3 separate regions of the Homo sapiens genome follow, and regions 1 and 3 are each linked to region 2. Evidence: promoter capture Hi-C in human tissues and cell types (Jung and others, 2019). All regions are on one chromosome and are shown on one strand. Each heading gives the region's core, a stretch centred on a gene start or on the middle of the fragment in contact. The rest is flanking DNA. Distances are from core to core; before and after follow the strand shown. Region 1 overlaps PRRX1 (paired related homeobox 1). Region 2 holds the start of PRRX1 (paired related homeobox 1). Region 3 has its middle 63 kb from the start of PRRX1.

What was found. Contacts are between HindIII fragments. The study calls those that stand out against the background at their distance.
Region 1: a contact is called between a fragment that was not itself captured here and the fragment with the promoter of PRRX1 in region 2, in 2 of the 25 tissues and cell types used here (bladder and spleen).
Region 3: a contact is called between a fragment that was not itself captured here and the fragment with the promoter of PRRX1 in region 2, in 1 of the 25 tissues and cell types used here (adrenal gland).

What each region holds. Positions count from the first base shown.
Region 1 is chr1:170,716,394-170,720,292 of GRCh38, reverse strand. PRRX1 (paired related homeobox 1) reads right to left here. Exons shown (of 4, transcript NM_022716.4): 2 at 392-567. Among named protein-coding and RNA genes, the nearest start is that of PRRX1, 54 kb to the right of the region's middle. The HindIII fragment of the contact is 8,530 bases long and covers 1-3,899 here.
Region 2 is chr1:170,661,379-170,665,759 of GRCh38, reverse strand. It overlaps PRRX1 (paired related homeobox 1), which reads right to left and starts at 1,629. Exons shown (of 4, transcript NM_022716.4): 1 at 1,301-1,629. The coding sequence starts at 1,541. RefSeq lists enhancers at 136-996, 2,197-2,724. The HindIII fragment of the contact is 17,405 bases long and covers 1-4,381 here.
Region 3 is chr1:170,598,874-170,602,685 of GRCh38, reverse strand. No RefSeq gene overlaps it. Among named protein-coding and RNA genes, the nearest start is that of PRRX1, 63 kb to the left of the region's middle. The HindIII fragment of the contact is 5,037 bases long and covers 1-3,812 here.

The DNA of each region.
Region 1 (3,899 bases), core at 1,258-3,757, 54 kb before region 2:
TGTTTATTTATTTTTGAGTCAGGGTCTCACTCTGTCACCCAGGCTGGGGTGCACTGGCGTGATCTCAGCTCACTGCAACCTCCACCCCCCAGGCTCAAGCAATTCTCCCACCTCAGCCTTCCAAGAAGCTGGGACCACAGGCACGCAGCATCATGCCTGGCTGTTTATTTATTTATTTTGTATTTTTGGTAGAGATGAGGTCTCACTATGTTGCCCAGGCTGGTTTCGAACTCCTGAGCTCAAGCAATGTGCCTGCCTCAACCTCCCAACGTGCTGAGATTGCAGGCATGAGCCACTGTGCTGGGCTATAATTTGTGTTTTTAAACAGTTTTCAGAGATGTGCCTCTGAGGAGGGTACTACTTGGTGCCAGCCTCTCACAGCTTGAGTTACCTGCACTCTCGCCTCGGTGAGGTTCACCCGGCGGGCAAGGTCTTCTCGCACAAAAGCATCAGGATAGTGTGTCCGCTCAAAGACACGCTCCAAAGCCTGCAGCTGGCTGCTATTGAAGGTTGTCCTATTCCTTCGCTGCTTTCTCTTCTTTTTTTCTTCTGAGTTCAGCTGGTCATCTGGAATAGAACACAATGATGAAAAGAAGCCAAATTCACTGTAGGAGTCCCAGTTAAGACTTTTTTATGGTATATCTATAGTGAGATCTTGCTTCATTTGCTCACATCTTTATCAAAGTCCTATAGCCAAATGCCACTTTGCATGTGCAAATGTGGCCATTAGCGCTCTCAAGTTCATATGTCAAGAATCCCAGCAACTCTAATGCTTGGCTGTTGCCTCTAAATCTGGGACAAGATCTGAACTGTCAGAGAGACATTACTTGCATGATCCTTGATGCCTGTTTGTCAAGGAAAATCTTACCCCTGCCCATGTTCTTTGGACTTCTCTAGAGATAAAGGAAGAAGAGTAAATGGTTTTGTACCTTATTTGTCTTTGACAATATTATGCTCACTCATATAGTTTAATAATCAAGTAGACCAATTATCTCCTGGTTCCTTCTCTCCTAACATATATACATGAACAAATACATAGAGTTATAGAGAGGAAACTATGTTCAAACCACATTACAGGGATTTGTTTTACCATGAACTCTCCTTGAAGCAGCAAGTAATTTCTAACACCATTCACTCAAGGCTCCATGCTGTTGCAAAGGCAGGCTTCAGAGGCCTCAGCCTAGATCAGGACTAGTGCTACAATGCCATCAACCCAAGCTAACATTAGCCTGGGGCTCACTCCCTGAGAACCCAAGAACAGGAAACAGTTCAGAAAGATCCCTGAAAATGTTTCACTCAAACTTGAGTTCTAGGACCCTGAGATCTTAGGGACCTTTGAAGAATCACAACTCCATTTTTACCTGTCAAGATCCTTCCTTGGTTTTCTCTGAGTTCCCCTGAAGGTAGCGTGGTGAGATAATTGTCCAGGTTGTCCATAGCAGTCAGAGTGTAGTATGCTCCTCTCCTGCTGCCCCCACCCAGCCCAGTCAGGAGTGATGTATATGTGAAACTGAATGGAATACCAGCTGTGCTGACACCTCAATCAAACTATCACCCTAAGGCCTGAGCTCTGCAGAGCCTGTGTAGGTCCCAGAGATTTGCAACACCATGCTGCCAAAACCCAAGTCACATGCTCCATCTAATGAACTTGACTTACATTCCCCATAGCTTTTCCCCAAAGAGGCTCAGCCCAAAGAAAATTATGAAGTGTTGGAGTGAGGATGGGGAGAACAAGGAGAGCTTGGCCATTCACTATTTAGAAAGTACTTTTGGCTCTCTCTTCTAATATGCAAATTCTCCTGATTCTCTCTGATTATAAACACACAATGTACTCAGCAAAACTATTAGCACAAGTCATGATGACACCTACCTCAGCTATAATATTGTTTTTATTACAAATTGAGGGAATGATCTAGATTTGTGTACAGAGTCAAAATGTAGCTTAAATCCAGAGGCCTGACAACTGAGGCCTCTAAGTCTTTTGCTAAGAGAATCCTTCTTCATCAATGCTTCCTTACCAGGAATACCCTTGAAGCTTAGAATAGAGACTGCACATTTCTTCTTGATAATTAAAGCACCCAGATATAGTAAATGCTTGCTGAGTTTGTTTTCAGGGAAAACGTGAAACTCCTCTTGTCCTTAGAAGACTGTTTCTGTAGAAAAAAATGTCAGATGATCTCAACCAGATTCCTCCAGCCAAGAAGCTACCATACCTTTCTCTCTGCTTCATGGTTTTGTACAGTCCACCTTCTCTTTGGTATTTTACACTTGTGGTGCCTTACCTCAGGGCCCAGCTTTGGTGGCACTTCTGTGACACTCAGTAAGAATGTAAGATCAGCTGCATCTTGGAAATGGAGCAAATTTAATAATAATTTTTGAGATCTACCAATGCCTAAAATATTCCAACCAACATCACTGATTATACCACTAGCTATTAGCAAAATTAGTTTGCAATAAGATCAGCACTAGAATTCAAACACCTAGGATTAAATACCTTTCAGTAGTTACATTGCACTTGCATTCTCCTTCCTATTTAATATTTGGAAGCATTCCTCCCATTCCTATTCATTTTTCCAAATCATTTTGTCTCGTACTTCAGGTCTTTCTAAGTAATACAAGCCCTTGTGATAGCACAATTATCTGAATTTCATGCCCCCAAAACAGAAGTCTGCAAAAAAAAAAAAGAAAAATCCTTAGCTTCTGTACTTTGTTTTAACTGAGACCAATTAGACACTAAGCCATTATTTTTAATCATATAGAGAAAATCCCCTATTAAGCCAATCCCATGACTTGTTTTCTTCTCTCAAAGAAAATTCTTTCTTAGGTGCAACCACAAATTATAAATCTTTTATGTTGTTTCAAAAGCCTATTTCTTCTTGTACTGCCAACTGCAATCAAGACCAAGAATATTTTATGTTTTGTTCTTAGTATTACAACCTGCTACATAATCTCAGTAGTTCTTTGAAATATTCCACTGTTCAATCAAATTCCACTGACTGTCTACCATAAACCACCAACTCCCCTGATGTGGGAGTAAGGGAAATGGAGAATTATAGTTTATGACAGGGAATAAATAGCTATGATGACCTGAAGCAATTCCAGCAAAAGTTTCCCAGTGAATGTTCTTGTTGTTTTTAACAAATGAAAACACTAGTTCAGATCATGTTGAAGGTGAGAAAAGACACAAATAACAGGGATCCAGGGAGTCTGGCTCTGGCAAATGTCCTTCAGAGTGCAAGTATAATAGAAAGAGACGATGAGCGGGCAACAGAGACAGCTCGAGCAGCAGTCCTGGGGATGGTCTGTCTTTGCTCACTAATCACAAAATGTGAGCTCCCTGTTTTTCCCCAAGAATGCAGAACAGGACCCAGCACAGTATCTTCAGCAGTACAAAAGGAAACATAAACACTGTAGAGGTTTACAAATGCAGGGTATCTGAAGGACCTGTGATAAACACATTTATCAGATTCTTGGCTCTGGTTGAATACAGGGGAGAGAAAGCAGTGTATTTTTACTAATTCCAAGAGGGTCATCTTTTCTTGCAAAAACAACTACAGTGAAAGTTGATTTTGAAACATGCTGTCTGAAGATACTGACATCCAACTGGATATTAGAATGCATCTCATTCTTTGGCATTCTAAAATGGGAAGGATTCACCAAGTTGTAGAATAACCAGCGGAAACATGAATACATTTTTTTTTTTTTTTTTGAGATGGAGTCTCGCTCTGTCGCCCAGGCTGGAGTGCAGTGGCGCGATCTTGGCTCACCGCAACCTCCGCCTCCTGGGTTCACACCATTCTCCTGCCTCAGCCTCCCGAGTAGCTGGGACTACAGGCACCTGCCACCACGCCCAGCTAATTTTTTGTATTTTTAGTAGAAACGAGGTTTCACCGTGTTAG
Region 2 (4,381 bases), core at 380-2,879:
TCTTGAGCACACCAGAGGCTCTCTCTGCGGCTTGCTGTAGCGTGGCCCGCGGGGCCACCACTGTGCCCGGACCCTGTTTCCAATTGTTTCTATGTGCAGTTTGATTTGTATGTCTATTCTTTGAGAGTCTGAAATAGGCAACGTTTTGTGAAAATCATAGAATGCTGGAGGGCCCCCCGGTTCCACGATTTCCAAATTTGAAGACAAAAATGGTAACCAGCAACTACTGACATAGAAAGCAACCAGCCTCATTTGAGAACTTACAGCTAAGTTCAGACTCTTGCAACCTCGAGGAGAAGAGGGAGTATCTGTACATATCTGGCCACATGTCACCTGGGATGAACAGGGTGACCGGTCTGTTACAGACTTGGGGGCATGGGGATACAATTGCAGTCTCTTTTTAAGGCACTAGCGAAGCGAGATTTTCATGGGTCGCGAGGTTGGTCGGTGAGGATGGGGAAGGGAAACTGGACTTTTCTGGGCGTTTAAGAGCCAATAGGGAGAGCTCCTCTAAGGTGACACTGGCCTCCGCACTGAAGCTCGCGCCTCCCGGATGCAGCTCGCCTGTGCGGGATCATGCGGGGCTGGATTTCAGGTTTCACCCTTAAAGGACATTCCCTTTGCTTGGCCCGAGTTTTCCCAAGCCAGCCGGGCTTTTGACTCTGCCAGTCTCAAACCCATTTGCGGTAGAGGCAACAGCAGGGGGCAGAGAGCAGCTCCAGCGTCTGGGGCCGGGCGTTCTCTCGGGGCCTCCCGGTCGCGCCCGGCCTTACGGTGCCCGCGTGGAGAGTGCAGCCTGAGCAGCGCCAAGTCCTGCTCCCTGTGCCTGGTGCCCTCCCTCAAGCCGTCATACGCTGCCCGAGAGAAGCCCTTCCAACCCGACTCAGCATCTTTAACCTGCTGCTTTCCCAAACAGCGCTGGCTCTCTGAGTTTGCACCCCGCTAAGACCTTTTCCCAGCCCAGCCCCGCCGCCCCGCGTGCGGGATGAACCGAGCCGGTGCCTAGCCGAAGTAAAGAGAGTCCGCCGCGGACAGAGTCCCTGCCTGAGACCGCAGGGCCTCGGAGTGTCCCCGGACCTTGGAGCCTCTCTCCAGCGTCCTCCTTGGCTATGCCCTCGGCCGAGACCCGCTTTTCTCATCTGGTTTCCCCTGTGACTGGCCCTTCCTTTGAAGTCTGCCATCACCTCTCCTGGTCCCAGGACCTTGTCTTTCTGGCCGCGGACGGGCTCTAGCTGCCCTACACGGGTCCCCGCCCTCTGTCCCGGGCACACACCCCCGTGGGCATGCGCCCCTCACTCACTGTCCTGCTGCGGGGTGTCGCTGCCGCTGGTGAGTCCCGGCGACTCCAGCAGGCTCCGGCCAGCCTCGCCCACGTTCTCATCCGCCTGTGCCGCCACCATGTCCCCGGCTTCCTCCAGGTCTAGCAGGTGACTGACGGAGAAGTTCTTTTTCGCCTGCAGGGTGTCGAGGTTGCCCGGGCTGTCCAAGCGGCCGCCCAGCGCCGGTTGCCGCTCCAGAACGTGCCCGTAGCTGGAGGTCATGGTCTCCCCCACCGATCCCACCCACCCCCCTCTTCCCGCTCGAATCAACACCAAACGCTGTGGGCGCGAGGGGGGAGAGGAGCCGAGTGGGGAAGAAAGAGGGGGGTAGTGGAGAGAGAGAGAGAGAGAGGGAGGAAGAGGGAGGGAAGGAGAGGAAGGCCAAAAAAAAAAAATTGGAAAAGAGGGTGGGGGACCCCCTTCTGTAGAGCAGAGCGTTGTGCACCAGCCGCCTTCCGCAGCATTGGTTGATTTCCTGAGGCCAAGTCCGGCGCGGTCCAAAGAGATAATCCACAGTAAAATACAATATTAAAAAGTCACCCTATGTTCAAGTCAGGAGAAAAAAATCCCTTCCAACTCTCCAAAAGTGTCCACACGCACAGACTAAAAATAATAACAAGGGGGAGAGAGGAAAGCGGAGGCCAGCAGGGCGGGGGAGTTAGGCAAACAGAAGAAGAGAGAAGAAGGGGTGGGAGAGAAGAATCAAAGTGAATGGTTTTTTTAAAGGTTAAAAAAGTTATTCCCAGGCAAGAGTTCAAGCACCAACAGAAGAAGGCTTGTTCCAGCTTTAAAACATCTTCAAGAAAACGTGTTCCCCCCTCTCTGCACTCCTGTGGATTCTCAGGAGTGACTAAAGTTTCAGGAGGAGAGGGTGATGTCTTGCAGATGTATTAGAGAGCAGGATTCTCACTTTACTTTTTGTAAAGAGTAAAAAAAAAAATTAAGAATTAAAAAAAAAAGGCTTCAAGAGTCCGACGGAGGGTGCTGGTGGGTTCCCCCCTTTCCCCTTCTCTCTCTCCCCCTCTTCTTGCTGGGCTCCTTTTTCCTTCTCAGTTGGATCAAGAAGCTCTCTGGCACTTCAAAAGGCACAAACTGGCATGCAGAGGAGGCTTTGTAGGGAATACAAGAAAATTGGAGACCCCTGGGAGGGCAGATCTCGACTTAATAGGAGCCTGTAATTACGTGGCAAAGCCTTTGTGCTGTGCCTGACGTTTCACAGACCCCCTTTCTCCATCACAATCTCCTTCTTCCTCCTTTCCCTGGGACCAAAAAACAGTCTGATTAAGAAAACCCCCTTTGCCAACATCAGAGTTAGAGAGAAAGGGAGAGGGAGGGAACAAGAGAGAGGGAGGGAGAGAGGGAGGGAGGGAGGGAGGAAGGGAGAGAGAGAGAGAGAGAAAGAGAGAAGAGAAATGAGAGAGGGAAGAGAGCAAGAGAGCCCCTTTGGATTTCTAAAGGTCTAATTATCATTCCCCTGCAATAATATCACGGGGAGAAAAGACAAACTGAAACTCACAGTCACTTCAAACGTGCTGATTATTTTGCTTCGGCATTAACTCCTCCAGATTTGTTTAAGATCCTGTTGGAAAATCTCATTTGCATGTTTTGATAACAGCTGTGGGGAAATTTGGAAAAAATCCACCACCATCACAATCAAATTTTCTTCTCCTTCTGCCTTCCCCCAAACCGCCCCCCCCCAAAAAAAAATTTTCTGCTGTTCTAACAGTTTGGGGCGGAGTACAGGGAGAAAGTAAGCATATTAAGGCTATTTTTGGTTCCGTAGAGGGAGCCTATTAAATAATGTAATAAAAATAACAAAAGGGATGATAATAGGAAGTTCTCTCACGCCTCTCGCAAGGACTAAAGGCAGGTTGGGGAGATCCAGAGGGCACCGAGTTTATTTGAGGCTTTCCCCGCCATTAGGCATACCAGGACTAGGGCAATGAGAAAAGTACGTGTTTATTAAACTGGAAGAAAGGACTCCAAATATATATTATAATCTTTCTCCCTACCCCCGCCAATTTTGTAACTTCTACGGTAAGGCCAAAGTTGCTTCCCCAGGCGAGGACGCTAAACCCAGAGGGTCCCGCTGCCCAGATTCCTTGAAGCAGGCAGGAGCACTCCCAGAGGCAGGAGTTGGGGAGGCTTCCGTGCGGTTCTGCGTCCAGCCTGGCTGTGGTGGCAGGAGGACAGAGAGGGGCGGAGGAACCCCCATCTAAGTCTACGGATAATCCTCTGTCGTCCGTCTGCGGAGCCCTAACCTGACAGAAGACAGAGAGGTGCTGAGCAGTTTTTTCATGACCTGTTGGAATTTGGTAACAGCTTTAACAGTCTCATTAGAAATGAGTTACTGTATGACGACTCAGTAAAATATTAAGTGCTTATTTGTGGCGTTTTATGTTCTTTAAACGCGCACTCACACACACACACACGCATCCGTACTCCCGCACTCCCTTGATTGCTAGACTTTTTTTTTTTTTCGTCCTATAGTCAAGAGGCTCGACTGGAGAGAAAGAAGGGTACGAGTGTGTGTAAATGGTTTCTGGGCTCCAAACGGCCATAGTTAGCCCAGAACTTCCAGCCCTGATCTGGGAAAAGAACATTTGATGCCATCAAAGGGCTGTAGATTGAAACCAGATGTGCTCGCCTCGGTTCTTTCCATGCATTTAATTAAGGAACTGGGATGGAGGAGACTTTTTCATCATTAGTCCACCCACTCCCCCCTCCTCTCGGCGGTCTTTCGCCCTCCCCCCACTCTCCCCGCCCCCACCCCCATCCCTTGGCCGCTCGAACCCCCGACCGGGAGCCCAGAGCCCTGCCAGCGCCGCACTGTGCGCCGCGCAAGTCGCTCGATCTCCCCAGCGGTACCGGCTCTAAGCAGTAAACATCTGTGCGCTTCTGAGCCAGGGACGCGCGTGGGGGGTGGGCGTGCACGCGGGTGGGCCAGCGCAGAGTGGGAGCTTGTGGGTGCTTTCCGTCGGGATTTCCAACTCAGCTGCCTCCGAGAGCCTAAGCTGAGCGCCGCACGTGCTCGTGCCATCTGCTGTACTGGACGCAGTCTA
Region 3 (3,812 bases), core at 743-3,242, 63 kb after region 2:
AATGTGAAAGCAACTTTGGAACTGGGTAACAGGCAGAGGTTGGAACAGTTTGGATGGCTCAGAAGAAGACAGGAAAATGTGGGAAAGTTTGGAACTCCCTAGAGACTTGTTAAATGGCTTTGATCAAAATGCTGATAATGATATGGACAATGAAATCCAGTCTGAGATGGTCTCAGATGGAGATGAGGAACTTGTTGGGAACTGGAGCAAAGGTGACTCTTGTTATGTTTTAGCAAAGAGACTGGTGGCATTTTGTCCCTTCCCTAGAGATTTGTGGGACTTTGGACTTGAGCGGGATGATTTGGGGTACCTGGTGGAAGAAATTTCTAAGCAGCAATGCATTCAAGAGGTTACTCGTGTGCTGTTAAAGGCATTCAGTTTTATAAGGGAAACAGACCATAAAAGTTCAGAAAATTTGCAGCCTGACAATGCCATAGAAAATAAAATAGCATTTTCTAAGAAGAAATTCAAGCCAGTTGCAGAAATTTGCATAAGTAATAAGGAGCCGAATGTTAATCCCCAAGACAATGGTGAAATGTCTCCAGGCCATGTCAGAGACCTTCATGGCAGCCCCTCCCAACACAGGCCCAGAGGCCTAGGAGGAAAAAATGGTTTCACAGGTTGGACCCAGGGTCCCCATGCTGTGTGCAGCCTAGGGACTTGGTGTCCTGCATCTAAGCTGCTCCAGCTATGGCTGAAGGGTCCAACATAGAGCTCTGGCTGTGGCTTCAGAGGGTGCAAGCCCCAAACCATGGCAGCTTCCATGTGGTGTTGAGCCTGTGAGTACACACAAGTCAAGAACTGGGGTTTGGTAACCTTTTCATAGAGTTCAGAAGATGTATGGAAACACCTGGATGACCAGGCAGAAGCTTGCTGCAGGAGCAGGTTCCTCATGGAGAACCTCTGCTAGGGCAGCACAGAAGGGAAATGTGGGGTTGGAACCCCCAAGCACAGTCCCTACTGGAGTACCACCCAGTGGAGCTGTGAGAAGAAGGCCACCATCCTCCAGACCCCAGAATGGTAGATCCACTGACAGCTTGCACCATGCACCTGGAAAAGCCACAAGCACTCAATGCCAGCCCCTGAAAGCAGCTATGAGGGAGGCGGTACCCTGCAAAGCCACAGAGGCAGAGCTGCCCAAGACCATGGGAACCCACCTCTTGCATCAGCATGACCTGGATGTGAGACCTGGAGTCAAAGGAAATCATTTTGGAGCTTTAAAATTTGACTGCCCCGCTGGATTTCAGACTTGCATAGGCCCTGTAACCCCTTTGTTTTGGCCAATTTCCCCCATTTGGAATGGCTGTATTTACCCAATACCTGTAATACCTGTATTTACCCAAAACCAATGTACCCCCATTGTATCTAGGAAGTAATTAGCTTGCTTTTGATTTTACAGGCTCATAGGCGGAAGGGACTTGCCTTATTTCAGATGAGACTTTGGACTGTGGAATTTGGGTTAAGACTTTGGGGGACTGTTGGGGAAGTATGATTGGTTTTGAAATGTGAGGACGTGAGATTTGGGAGGGGTCAGGGATGAAACAATATGGTTTGACTGTGTCCCTAATCTCATCTTGAATTGTAACTCCCACAATTCCTACATGTCGTGAGAGGAACCCAGTGGGAGGTGATTGAATTATGGGGGAGGGTCTTTCCTGTGCTGTTCTTGTGATGGTGAATGAGTCTCATGAGATCTAATGATTTTGAAAATGAGAATTTCCCTGCACAACACTTCTCTTATCTGCTGCTGTGTGAGACAGGGCTTTTCACCTCCCACCATGAGTGTGAGGCTTCCCCAGCCACATGGAACTGAAAGTCCATTAAATTTCTTTCTTTTGTAAATTGCCAAGTCTCTGGTATGTCTTTATCAGCAGTGTAAAACGGACTAATACACCCATCTCTACTAAAAATACAAAAATTAGGCAGGAGTGGTGGCATGCACCTGTAGTCCCAGCTACTCAGGAGGCTGAGGCAGAGAATCAGTTGAACCCAGGAGGTGGAGGTTGAAGTGAGCCAAGATCACTCCACTGCACTCCAGCCTGGGTGACAGAGTAAGACCCTATCTTGAAAATAACAATAACAATAATAATAATAATTTAACAATGTCCTAAAATAAAGCTCAAGGGTTAAACTGTTTCTAAATAATTTAACAATGTCCTAAAATAAGACTCAAAAATATTTATAGGAATAAAAAATCTCAGCTCTGAGAGAGGTAAAATTCATAATATCTGGCATCCAATAAAAAATATTATCAGTCTTGCAACTCATATGATTGATAATATGGTATTTGAAAAACCCAATTAGTCAAAACTAACACATAAATGACACAGATAATAGCGTTAGTAGACAAGGTCATTAACACAATTATAACAGAATTCCAGATGTTTAAAAAGCTAGAAGAAAAATTAAACATGTTAATTAGAAACATGAAAGATATAAAAGAGAACCAAATTAAACTTCTAAAGATGAAAACAATGACCCAAATGAAAAATACAATGGACAGGATTAATGGCAGATTAAACATTGCAGAGGAAAAGATTGGTAGTGAACTTAAAGATACAGCAATAGAAACTATCCAAAATAAATCACAGAGAAAAATAAAATACTAAAACAAAAAAGACAAACAGAGCTTTAATGAATTGTGTAACAACTTCAAGCAGGCTAATATACACATAATTCCAGTCCCCAAAGTATTAAGGGCAGGGAGGACAGAAAAAAACTGAAGGAATACAGTCATCCCTCTGTATCCGAGGAGATTTCTCTATTCAGAAATCCCTACTAAGATACCAAAAATCTAAGAATTCTCAAGTATCTTATATAAAATGTCATAGTATTTGCATATAACCTATGCACATTCTCCCATACACTTAAGTCATCTCCATATTATAAGTAATTTACATTATATTAACTAATATAATACAATATATATTAGATATATAATATAATACAATGTAAATACTATGCAAATAGTTGTTATACTGTATTGTTTTTCATTTGTATTCTTTTTTATTGTTGTATTATTATTTTTATTGTTCTTTTTATCTTCAGTTGATTGAACACTTAGATGTAGAACCAGCAGATATGGAGGGACACTGTGATGCCAAAATAATGACCAAAACAGTTCCAAATTGAATGAAAACTATAAGCTTACAGATCCAAAAAGCTAAACAAATGAAGAAAATTACACCAAGAACTATCATACTTAAATTTCTTCAAAATAATAATAGAAAAAAATCTTAAAGCAGCCAAAGAAGGCATATTACCTACAAAGGAACAACCATAAGGATGATAGTACATTTTCATCAAAGTAATGAAAGTGAAAAGGCAGTGGAGCAACATCTTTAAATTACAATAATGCATCATTCAACAATGGTGACACAATCTGAGAAATGCATTTTTAGGGGGTTTTGTCATTGTGTGAACATCACAGAGTGCACTTATACAAACCTAGATGGTATAGTCTATTACACACATAGGCTATATGGCATAACTTACTGCTCCTAGACTACAAACCTGTGCAGTATGTTACTGTACTGAACACCATAGACAACTGTAATGCAATGATAAGTATTTGTGCATCTAAACATATTCAAACTGAGAAAAGATAAAGATACAGTAAAAATACAGGAGAAAAGATTTTTAAAATAGCACATCTGTAGAGAGCACTTACCATAAATGAAGCTTGCAGGACTGGAAGTTTCTCTGGGTGAGTATTTTAAAATACTTATCTTTCTTCAATAATAAATTAGCCTTAGCTTTCTATAATCTTTTTACTTTATAAAGTTTATAAAGCAGATTTGCTTACACCAGCA